Regions from separate parts of the Homo sapiens genome. Here region 2 is linked to region 1. The links are contacts of gene promoters, found by promoter capture Hi-C in human tissues and cell types (Jung and others, 2019). All regions are on one chromosome and are shown on one strand. Each heading gives the region's core, a stretch centred on a gene start or on the middle of the fragment in contact. The rest is flanking DNA. Distances are from core to core; before and after follow the strand shown. Region 1 holds the start of DUSP3 (dual specificity phosphatase 3). Region 2 overlaps LSM12 (LSM12 homolog).

What was found. The method cuts DNA at HindIII sites, captures the fragments that hold promoters and counts their contacts. A contact is called where the count stands out against the background at its distance.
Region 2: a fragment that was not itself captured here is called in contact with the fragment with the promoter of DUSP3 in region 1 in 1 of the 25 tissues and cell types used here (dorsolateral prefrontal cortex).

Annotation. Positions count from the first base shown.
Region 1 is chr17:43,775,133-43,781,293 of GRCh38, forward strand. DUSP3 (dual specificity phosphatase 3) reads right to left here and starts at 3,845. Exons shown (of 3, transcript NM_004090.4): 1 at 3,668-3,845. The coding sequence starts at 3,792. CFAP97D1 (CFAP97 domain containing 1) reads left to right here and starts at 5,303. Exons shown (of 6, transcript NM_001136483.3): 1 at 5,303-5,454; 2 at 5,987-6,057. The coding sequence starts at 5,331. RefSeq lists an enhancer at 3,109-3,403 and a silencer at 3,336-4,025. The HindIII fragment of the contact is 3,419 bases long and covers 3,818-6,161 here.
Region 2 is chr17:44,058,341-44,064,501 of GRCh38, forward strand. LSM12 (LSM12 homolog) reads right to left here. Exons shown (of 5, transcript NM_001371445.1): 2 at 5,461-5,594. Among named protein-coding and RNA genes, the nearest start is that of LSM12, 5.2 kb to the right of the region's middle. The HindIII fragment of the contact is 3,461 bases long and covers 991-4,451 here.

The DNA of each region.
Region 1 (6,161 bases), core at 2,595-5,094:
ATAGACTGGTGGTTTCATAGCCATGCTGTCCCCTCTGTCTGGAATGCTCTTTCCCACCTTCTCTGGAGAAATGCGCCCTCTCATCTTTCACACCCTCCGCAGTGTTTGTCTCCCCTCCATTCCATTTGGCCCCATGCTCCCTAAGCTGTGGTGGGGGTGTACATAGCCAACTGGTTACAGATGGGCTCTGGAACCAGACTAACTGGGTCTGCATCCTGCCCAGGTACTAGCCAGGCAACCTTAAGCAAGCCATTTAACCTTTCTGTGCCTCAGTTTCCCTCTCTGTAAAATGGGGATAACAGTGCCTTCTCCTTGAGGTTGTTATGAGTATTAAATGGGCTATTCCATTGACAGAGCTGGACACGGTAGTGAGCACTATGATTCTAATGCTTGATTGTGCTTCTGTGTTTAGACATCCAGACTGTGAGCTCCTTGAGAGAGGAACCATGTCTGCTTTAAGTCTGTTTCCCCACCATCTGCTATAGTACCTGCTACATAGTAGGTGCTGAATAAATAAGCGGTGAATGAGTGCAAAAGAATAAATTTGTCACGTACCAGGCAGCCCCCTCCCTGCCCCCAGAGGGATCCTACCTGCCACATTCCACTGGCTACGTTTCCAAAGCTCTTTTGGGTGATTTAGTACTTGGGGAGTAAGTGGCCCCAACAGAACTATGGGAGGTTACAAAATAATTTATCTAAGGTCGGGTGCAGTGGCTCACACCTGTAATCCCAGCACTCTGGGAAGCCGAGGCAGGTGGATCACCTGTCAGGAGTTCGGGACCAGCCTGGCCAACATGGTGAAACCCCGTCTCTACTAAAAATACAAAAGTGAGCCGGGTGTGGTGGTACATGCCTGTAATCCCAGCTACTCTGGGATTACAGAGGCTGAGACAGGAGAATCACTTGAACCCGGGAGGTGGAGGTTGCAGTGTGCTGAGATTGTGCTATTGCACTCTAGCCTGGGTGACAGAGTGAGACTCCGTCTCGAAAAATAAAATAAAATAAAATAAAAATAATAATTGGTCTGAATGGTGAAAAGGCCCCTTTATTTCATCTCACAAAACATCCCAGTCCAAATAGCAGTTTATACTTTATAAAATGCCACCTCCTGTGTGATCTTGCTTGCCCACTGCGAGCAGCCCTGTGAGGAACAAGGATGGCAATATCCCTGCTTAACAGAGCTTGAACTCAGGCCCAACAGGATGAGCAGAGGGATGGGCACAGGCCCCGTGTGCTGCTGGTGGCAGATCTGGGAGAAGACCTCCTTTCTCCCGACATCCAGCCCTGCTCTATCTTCCACCTCACTCTGCCCCTCATGCCCACATCTGCTGCAAAACCCCCAAGGCCTGGCACATGTGGCTCACACAGGCTCTGGCTCTGCCTTGTGAGGACGTGGCTGCGGCCCTGATTTTGTTAAGGGAATGGAGCCCAAATCCTCTTGGTGCTTGGTGCTCACTGATCCTCCCTGTTGAGGAACCCCCACACCCCTGGCCAAGTCAAGGTCAGAGGTGCTTAGAGGGCAAGGGATGTATTTTCTACAGTGGCCATCAGCAATTGCCACTCTGGCTACACCAGACGTGTACAACCTTGGTTTCCACTTGGGAAGTGATGACAGCTGAATGGCCAACCTGCCCAAGCAAGCGGGATTCCTGAGGCTAACAAGGCCTGCTTGCTGCTTGGTGCAAGAGGAAGGGTGTCTCTAGAGCTTTCCAATTCCTGAAGCCTTTGGCTGACACTGTGGGACTCTGTTTATTCCTGCTTAGGACACCGCGCAAGACTGTGAAGCAGTGGCTGATAGAAAAAAACACTTTGAAGAGTCACTCCCATTCATCTCCCTTCTCTAATACTTTTTTTTTTTGAGATGGAGTTTCGCTCTTGTTGCCCAGTTGGAGTGCAACGGTACGATCTTGGCTCACTGTAACCTCCACCTCCCGTGTTCAAACGATTCTCCTGCCTCAGCCTCCGGAGTAGCTGGGATCACAGGCGCCAGGCACCATGCCCAGCTAATTTTTGTATTTTTAGTAGAGACAGGGTTTCACCATGTTGGTCAGGCTGGTCTCGAACTGCTGACCTCAGGTGACCCACCCGCCTCGGCCTCCCAAAGTGCTGGGATTACAGGCGTGAGCCATCGTGCCAGGCCTCTAATACTATTAATAATTCAACATTCAAAAAATTTACAATTATCATTATTACTATCTCTACTATGAATGAACATTGTACAGTGCCTGACATAAAGCAGGTGCTCAGACTGGTGAATGAATGATGGAATGGATGAGAACTGTCCCCATGAGGCTGGGGCCTGATGGACCCCTTCTAGTTCCATGATGACCCCCATTTCCGTGGCAGTCCTTGGCAGGCTAAACAGCAGGTCATAGCGGAGGTCAGGAAATACATACATGAACAAGACATTGACCCTGTCCTTGTAGTCCCTCACACACTCTGAGCCACCATTTCCTCCTCTGTAAAATGGGAGGAGGGTTAGTTTTGAGTTTTCAACATGCCATCCTTGGGCTGAGCCATGAAGCTTAGGATTTTGGTAACTGGGTCCTCAGAGTATCGTGAAAATCCAACTTGAGGCTTTCCAAGGCTGTACAGGCATGCTAATATATTCTTTCTTGAGGCTCCTATTTCACATCTCAGAATGTTAACACTGGTTCTTTCCTGCTGATTAGACATTCTTACTAGAAAAAAAATTTAAAATTTAAATTAAAAAAAATCTCTTACTGTCCGGGTGCGGTGGCTCACGCCTGTAATCCCAGCACTTTTGGAGGCCGAGGTGGGCGGATCATGAGGTCAGGAGTTTGAGACCAGCCTGGCCAAGAGACCAGCCTGGCCAATATGGTGAAACCCCGTCTCTACTAAAAATACAAAAAGTAGCCAGGCGTGGTGGCGGGCGCCTGTAATCCCAGCTACTCGGGAGGCTGAGGCAGGAGAATTGCTTGAACCCAGGAGGCAGAGGTTGCAGTGAGCCGAGATCTCGCCATTGCACTCCAGCCTGGGTGACAGAGCCTGGGGGTGAAAGGTCAAGAGCCTTTTCTAGGTGGTGGCTCAGGTCCTTAGGGGGGTTATCACTGGACCGTTCTAGAATCTCCTGTAAATCAAATCACATCTGGAAGGTGGGGGCCTGGAAATCCCGGCCCAGCTCCCCGGACTCGCTCATTTGGGGTGTTTAGGTTCCCTGATCCGGGACTGCCGGGCCGGGAAAATTCCATGCCCGAATTGTGACGTCGGCCCGTTGCCATGGCGGCGAAGGCAGACATTCCGCGGTGACCTCACTGCAGAACCAGGCAGCTGTCACATGACGCGCGGGCAGGAGACCGGCCGGGCGACCGAGGGTCACCTGTTAAGTGAACATGGTAGCCCCGACCCCGCCCAAGGCCAAGCCCCAAGCGGGTGGCGGCTGGGACCCGGGCAGGCGCCACCCGGGCTCCGTGCACCCCGCCACGGGGAAGGGCCGCGCCCGGCCAGGCAGGGTTCCAGTTCCTTGGCCCCACGCGCGGGGGTAGGCGTCGACTCCAGGCCCCTCCCAAGCCCCCGCTGTGGCTCCCGGAGGGGCCATCGCGCCCGGGCTCCCCCAACCCAAGACTCGCGACACCCCGACCCCAGCCTCGGGTGGGCGGGGCGTCCCGAGAGGGACGGCGGGGCCGGGCTCGCGAAAGGGACTCACGCGTTGCCCACGTAGATCCGCGGGGTGACCTCGTTGCAGGGCTGGCTCGGGAGGCTGTAGCAGCCGCTGCCGTCCGAGAGCAGGTCGTTGAGATCCTGCACCGAGAGCTCGAACGAGCCCGACATGGCGGCGGCGGGGCCCTGCACGCCCGGCAGGAGCAAGCGAGGCGGAGAGCGGCGGATCAGCTGGGCGGGGGCTCGCGCCGGGAGCCGCCCCGTCCCGCCCCTGGGGCGGGCCCGCCGGGCTCCGGGAGCTGCGGAGCGCGGGCGCCGTGACGCGGGGGCCCCGCGCGCCACTCCTGGGCGCGTCCCGGGGGGAAGACGCCACCGCCCTGGAGTCTCAGGGGTCCTCGCCCCATCCCGGTCCAGGCCGTTTGTGTATCTTTGTAAACTGGCAAGCGCGGTAACTTCCTTCCCTGAATTAAATGCAGGGCCCAATAAACATTTCGTGGCGGAGGTACACCTAGGGGTCGCTTCAGTCTTTCATGATTACAGGGACCGCCGGGTTCGGCTCGTGAGCGGCTCCCTGCAGTGGAGGCACCACCCGGGCGCTTGACAGAATCCCCGCCCCAGCCCAGCCCTGCTGGATCAGAGTGGACATTTTACGGACCCCAGGAGGTCCCTACGGTCAAAGTCTGAGAAGCCCTACTCTGGGGCGCATCTGCTTTCAACATTCATTGAGAGTCATCGTCGTGCTTAAAAGCAGTCAGGTTTGGAATTCTGAGGAATTACTTAACCTGAGCCTGTTTGCAGGGAAAAAAAAAAAAAGCGGGATAGTAATGGTACCTAATTCTAGGGTTGCTGGAAGGGTTAAATGTGACATTCAAAGAAGGCACCCAGCACTGCATGGCGAGCACTCAATAGGTGTTAGTCCTTCATCAACAAATGCGTTGAGCACCCAGTGGGTGCTATACCCTGTGCTGGGGTGGAGATAAATCAGACTCCTGCAGCCCTTCCTGGAGCAGATGCCAGCCCACCATAAGCCACTCAGCATTTCCTGAACTCCCACTAAGTACAAAAGATAGTCTCTGTACTGGAGGAAAGCTGCCCTCCCCTACTGCCATGAAAAACTGGCAGTTTCCTTCCTGCAAAAGGGCAAATTTGGCCTTGAATTCAGGAACCCCACATCCTGAGCCCAGCCCTGCCACCAACTTGGTTCTTGAGTAACGTTGCTGCTGCTGTGGTCTTCAGTTTCCTCATTTGCAAAAGGAATTGGATCCGATTATCATTAGGGTCAACTTTCTCCTCCTCCAAAACTTGTGGTCTTGCACCTTCAGGGGAGCTATTGCAGTGGAGACTACTTAGCTGATAGCCCAAGATGTGTAACCAAGGCTGGAATTTCTGTATCCCTCACCCCACCCCGTGCCTGCCCACCCCTCCCGGTGCACCACTTCTTTCCTTCTGGTGTTGGCTGGCAGCATCTGCATTCTAAGCAGCGGGGAAAGCTTTCGAGTTCCTTGACCTTCATCTTGACTTGAGCCGAGGTTAGCATTAAAAACACAAGCCCAGAGGCAGCCAGCCATGCTCTGCTGCTCCTACTCCCTTCCCGGGACCTGTCCCTGATGTCATAACTGGGTAACTATGACAGCTTGTCATGGGGACAGCTAGGCACCTCACAGAGGAGTCTGGGTACCTCATTTCTGAAGTGAGACTAGGAAGAGAAGATGAACAATTCCCTGGATTATCTGGCCTACCCTGTTATCGTCTCTAATCACAGGCAAAGCACAACCTTCAGAAAGAAACTGGACTTTGGCCACTACGTATCTCACAAGAATAGAATACAAATAGGTATGTGGGCAGTTTGGGCTGGACACTGCTATTAGGGATTTTGGAATGGTACCCCATAAAGAGATCAACAGGAAACCAGACCAGGTCACAGCTTTGGGATGATATGGCCTTATCTGCTGAGTTTGGGGAAGAGGGCATTAGCACCAATAACAAAATGTATCTTCCACCAGGGAGTTCACTGGATGGAAATACTCCTTTAAACTCCTTAAAGCCGAAGTACGTTAGAAAGGGGATAAGACTTCAGAAGCCAATAGACAGGCTAATAATATTGGAAAAAGATTGGAAGAGAAGCTCTTTCATTGGATTAGAAGGACATTTATCTCTGTAAATTTTATTTTCACTATTCTTTTGTTTCTGCTCAAAACTCTCCAGAGATGTTCATTTGATAAATCAAACCAAACTTCTTGAGTCGCATTAAGGTCCTAATTCGAAATTGTTCATTAGTCAAGGACATTGTCTAGTGCTGGTTTTCTGAGGCCGCTACTGGAATTCCTGTGATGTAACATTGTTCCCTTTTATCCCCCTTCTCTAGCGAAGCCTACTGTTGATACCAAACCTCCAGTGGCGCACACAAATCACATTTTAAAATTGAGCAAACTACAGGTATTTGTTCTTGCTGCTTGCAGATGTGCAGATGTATTTTATTGACTTCCAGTCTGTTTCCTAAAGAGGTTCAATTTCCCAGAGCCTTCTAAATACCCATCTAC
Region 2 (6,161 bases), core at 1,471-3,970, 280 kb after region 1:
CCTAAGTCTTTTCTACTAGACTACCCTGCCCCTGACCACAGAACATAGATGTTTTTCTTTACTTAGAAACGTTACCTAGGGGCTGGGCCAGTGGCTCATACCTGTAATTCGAATACTTTGGGAAGCCGAGGAAGGAGGATTGCTTGAGCCCAGGAGTTACAGACCATCCTGGGCCACACAGTAAGACCCTGTCTCTACAAAAAAAAACTAGGCTGGGCGCGGTGGCTCACGCCTGTAAACCCAGCACTTTGGGAGGCCAAGGCGGGTGGATCATGAGGTCAGGAGTTCGAGATCAGCCTGGTCAACATGGTGAAACCCCATCTCTACTAAAGATACAAAAAATTAGCCAGGCATGGTGGCGCACGCCTGTAATCCCAGCTACTTAGGAGGCTGAGGCAGGAGAATTGCTTGAACCTAGGAGGCAGAGGTTGCAGTGAGCCGAGATCACGGCACCACCGCACTCCAGCCTGGGCAACAGGGCAAGACTCCATCTCAAAAAAGAAAGAAAAATTAGCCAGGTGTGGTGGTTTGTGCCGGTAGTCCCAGCTACTTGGGAGGCGAGGTGGAAAGATCACTTGAGCGAACCCTGGAGGTCGAGGCTGCGGTGAGCTGTGACTGCATCATTTGCACTCCAGCCTGGGCACAGTGCGAGACTAACTAAAAAGAAACAAAACAACCACCCAGGTGTGGTGATGGGAGATTGTAGTCCCAGCTACTCAGGAAGCTTGGGCGGATCACTTGAGGCTATGAGCCAGGAGTTCGAAGCTGCAGTGAGTTATGATCATGCCACTGCACTCTAGCCTGGTCAACAGAATGAGACTATATCTCTAAAAAACAGAACACACACACACACATACACACACACACGAAACATAACTTAGCATTGTACATTATTCAGGGTACTTCATGTTGCCAAACTATGAGTTCCTTGGGCTAAACACAAAGTAATAGAAAAACAGGGGACTTGGCCAGGTGCAGTGGCTCACGCCTATAATCCTAACACTTTAGGAGGCCGACGCAGGTGGATTATCTGAGGTCAGGAGTTCAAGGCCAGCCTGGTCAACACGGCAAAACCCCATCTCTACTAAAAATAGAAAAATTAGCCGGGCATGGTGGCAGCAGGCGCCTGTAATCCCAGCTACTCAGGAGGCTGAGACAGGAGAATCGCTTGAACCGAGATCACACCGGGCAATGGACTGAGACCCTGTCTCAAAAAAAAGAATTCCCCCTACTGCAACCCTACTGTCCTCTCTCAAGCTTCCTCTTACATGCTACTGCTGGAGATAGAAATAAGACTTCTTAGCCTGAAGTGAACTATCATTCGAAAGCAAAACAGGCCAATTTCCAAGAAGTTGCTAGTTTATACCTTCCCTAGTTGAGCTATTATTAAGTATTTCCTGTATAAGCCCTTCTCTTCCATTTCCTGCTAGGTCAGAGTCAACAAATATCCGGTTTTTATCAACAGGTTTAATTAAGCAGATCACTTACTATGTCAGCAAGATGGGCCAATATGTGATGATACCTTTGACTAAAGTTAGAGTAGGCCGGGTGTGGTGGCTCAAGCCTGTAATCCCAGCACTTTGGGAGGCCGAGGCGGGCGGATCACAAGGTCAGGAGATCGAGACCATCCTGGCCAACATGGTGAAACCCCGTCTCTACTAAAAATACAAAAAAATTAGCCGGACATGGTGGCGGGCGCCTGTAGTCCCAGCTACTCGGGAGGCTGAGGCAGGAGAATGGCATGAACCCGGGAGGTGGAGCTTGCAGTGAGCCGAGATGGCGCCACTGCACTCCAGCCTGGGCGACAGAGCAAGACTTCGTCTCAAAAAATAAATAAATAAAATAAAATAAATAGAGTAGGCTAGTGCTTCTCCAGACTGCAAGCAACTGAAACTTCAACAGTTTTCTTCCAGACATCCCAGAGTACATTAGTTCCCTTCCATATGCTTAAATGATCCTCCATCTTAAGAAAAACTCAAGTCCGTGATCTTAAAAATGAGACTAACTTTTCACGTCATTCATGCAACATGTTAATAGCTGCCCGAAATAGCTGTTTTCAGCAGTAGCCCAAAAGGCTCTCTCTAATTCTAAGTCAATCTCCAAAAAGGAATCGCAAAGCATCCTAAAAGGTTGATTTCAAGGGAAAGCCAATATAGCTTACTCATAAACATCTCTGCAAACGGAAGAATGAATAAACGAAATCCAAAGATAACCCTCCAACCTAATTTTAGTTTTTAGTTTCTGACTCCTCTTCCCAGCAAACCTCTTTCAAGATTTGGCAAGCAGGCCACAGAGTAAGAAAAGTAAAGATTTCTGGTGTTCCCCAAGCTATTACTTCCTGCTGCTTTCCTCAAAAACTGGGTAATCAGCTAGTTTACAACAATGCTAGTAAACAAGGAAAACCCTAAAGGCAAAGATAATCCACAAACTAACCAAGAGCTATATCTACCTGAGGTCAAACATAAGAAGAGAACTGCTTCTTAACAGCTCCTGCTTAACAGTCCCATCCACACTACCCCACCCCCTCTAAATGGTGGCACTCATTGGTCACAAGAGCCAACTTTCTAACTTCAGAAAATCACCTCTCTTTCAGATCTTTACTACTCACTAAAGATCTAGTGACAGACTTATCATACCCTATAAACACCAAAAAATAACTCAGAGCCTATTTGGTTCTTTAATACACTAGGAATAATGCTGGGCACAGTGGCTCACGCCTGTAATTCCAGCACTTTGGGAGGCTGAGGCGGGCGGATCACCTGAGGTCGGGAGTTCGAGACCAGCCTGACCAACACGGAGAAACCCCGTCTCTACTAAAAATACAAAATTAGCTGGGTGTGGCTGTGCATGCCTGTAATCCCAGCTACTCAGGAGGCTGAGGCAGGAGAATCACTTGAACCCGGGAGGCGGAGGTTGCGGTGAGCCGAGGTTGCACCATTGCACTCCAGCCTGGGCAACAAGAGCGAAACTCCATCTCAAAAAAAAAAAAAAAAAACACCAAGGAATAAATTATTTAACAAGTCTTAAAATTTCATGAGCTTATAGAAGACACTCAAAGAGCTCCTATACTCTGGTAGAAGGTATATTACTAAGCCAAGGTTTCAAAAACCTATAAGCTTCAAAGAATGGGACATCCCATACAAGACAACACCCATATGAACTCAATAGCCTTCCAAATCTGTCCCTGGCCATCACTAAAAAATGTGTGGCATTTCCCTAGAATCTGACAAGATAGGAACTCCAGATCTGAGGTAACGACATTCACTAGCCTCAGCATCAGTTACCCTCTATTATTTTAGTTGCCTAAGTGTTTCCTTGCTTTGCTGAACTGTACAGAACACACCACATTCCCAAGAGAGGCAAAGTAATACACATTATTGCAAGATTCCTCTAGAGGGAAAAACTTCCACCACATTAATTCAAGAGACTTAATGAAAAGCACCTGCTACTAAAATTGGAGGCATCTTATTCATCCAACAAATATTTATTAAATACTCTGTGCAAGGCTCTGTATATTCAATAGTAAATAAAATAGGTATGGTCCCCATCCCTGCAGAATAAAGTTTAGTGAGACAGACACTAGACAAGTAAACAACTATGGCCAGGAGCGGTGGCTCACGCCTGTAATCCCAGCACTTTGGGAGGCCGAGGCGGGCGGATCACAAAGTCAGGAGATCGAGACCGTCCTGGCTAACACAGTGAAACCCCGTCTCTACTAAAAATACAAAAAAGTTAGCCGGGCGTGGTGTCGGGCGCCTGTAGTCCCAGCTACTAGGAAGGCTGAGGCAGGAGAATGGCATGAACCCGGGAGGCGGAGCTTGCAGTGAGCTGAGATGGCGCCACTGCACTCCAGCCTGGGCGACAAAGCGAGACTCCGTCTCAAAAAAAAAAAAAAAAAAAAAAGCTATGAATAGGGTAACCTAATCTATACCTGTTGTCCCTGTGTAAAATAAAAGCATTCCCCTTTACTCTCAAAAATGTCCCAGGTTGGACTACAAATGATATGGTCACCTTAACTGTGAAGGACAAGGTACTATGAGAGAGAATAATGCAGGCAAATTACTTCAGCCTGGGTGATCAGAGAAGACTTCTTGGAAGACGTGCCATTTAACTGAGTGCTGATGGGTGGTAAGGCTCCAGTCATTCTGGAAGGAAAAATGTTCCAAGTACAGGGGACAGCACAGGCTATGACAGGGCTTGAGGCATTATTATGATCAACTTCAATTTTGACTAAATAAACGGAATTGTCAAAAAAGTGACTTAGGGCCGGGCATGGTGGCTGACACCTGTAATCCCAGCACTTTGGGAGGCTGAGGCAGGCAGATCACTTGAGGTCAGAAGTTCAAGATCAGCCTGGCCAGCATGGTGAAACCCCATCTCTACTAATAATACAAAAATTGAGCCAGGAGCAGTGGCTCACACCTATAATCTTACCACTTTGGGAGGCCGAGGCAAGCAGACTGCCTGAGCTCAGGAGTTCAAGACCAGCCTGGGCAACAGAATGAAACCCCGTCTCTACTAAAATAAAACAAATTAGCCGGGTGTGACAGTGTGTGCCTGTCTCCAAAAAAAAAAAAAATTTGGCCAGGCGTCGTGGCACACACCTGTAGTCCCAACTACTCCAGAGGCTGAGGCACGAGAATCACTTAACCTGGGAGGCGGAGGTTACAGTGAGCCGAGATCGCGTCACTGCACTCCAGCCTGGGCGACACAGAGAGACTCTGTCTCAAAAAAAACGCCGGGCGCAGTGGCTCCAATAAAAAGAAAGACTTGGGCAGGCATGGTGACGCATGCATGTAATCCCAGCTACTCAGAAGGCCGAGGCAGGAGGGTCACTTGAGCCCAGGCGTTCAAGTTCAACCTGGGCAACAAAGCAAGACCCTGTCTCACACATACACACACAAAAGTGACTTGGGGGTTCCCAGAGATCAACTTTTATGTGCAAGATTAAAATATGCTAAGCATGTAACTGTTAGAACTCAAAATTCAAACATAAAGACAAAAAAGAACCTTTAAGACAGTGGCTTTCAAACTTTTCTAAGTCATGAAACCCTCCGAGAATCTGAAAAACACTTTAGATCTTCAAGCAGAAAATGCATATATTCACGTATGCACACATCCACATATACACAATTTGAAGACATTCATAGGTAACGCCACCACCCAAACCCCAGCAGCACTATTAGTTCATCATGAACTCCAAGATTTAAAAAGTCCTCTTTCATAAAGGCAGAAGCAAGCTCTCAACTTATTTGGGAGTTAAGCTACTTCTTAAGATCTACTGATAACATCCAGGAATAAAGAGAAAAACTAAACCTACATTTTTTAAAAAGATATCAGAACAAACAATTTTAAGTCAATTTTAAAAAATAAAAAATAGACAACAATGTATCACTAAGACTCAATGAGACTCATCTTTCCCACCATTTTAGAGAGCCAGATCTGCCCTTGAGTCCTTACCTTACTAACATTGAGTGAAGCTAGGGGAGGAGGGGTTTCTGTTCGGTCATTAATTATTTCCACTTCTGAAACATACTGTAAGTTTATGAGCAAGATGTCTGCATGGTTGGGCTTTCCACTGGAAGAGGGACATTCTGGTGAGAAAAAAAAAAGTTAAGGAAAAATAGGACAAGCAGAGGCACTGACACATCCCAAAAGGGGCATAGAAAACACGATTCACACAAGGCTTGTAAAAGGCAGGCCAGGAGCATGAGGGCCTTATAAGAATCACGGTTCTCCTCAGGAAATCTCTGCCTGTCACCTTCCTCCTGCCCAAATCCTTGGAAGCTTCCAAAGGAGTTCTGTCACTTTCTCTCTACTGGCTTTATGGAGAGGCATAATGCAGATTTAATGCGTTTGTCTTGAACCTATGAGCCAGACAAAAGAGCTAGACCTTTCTGTTCTTCGTATAATACTCTCTGTGTCTGCACAGTATTCTTTTTACTCTTTCAGATGTGAGCTTTCCCATTTTGCAGAGGAGAAAACTACACACTGGAAAGGAAATTCACCCAAGGTGACCCAGCCAGTTAATCCATTCATTCATTCACAAACTCATTCTCCAACCATTTAAGAGCCTACTGTATGTCAAGTAAAAGTTGAGTAATTCAGCCAGGCTCACGTGATGGCTCACGCCTGTAATCTCAACACTTTGGGAGGCTGAG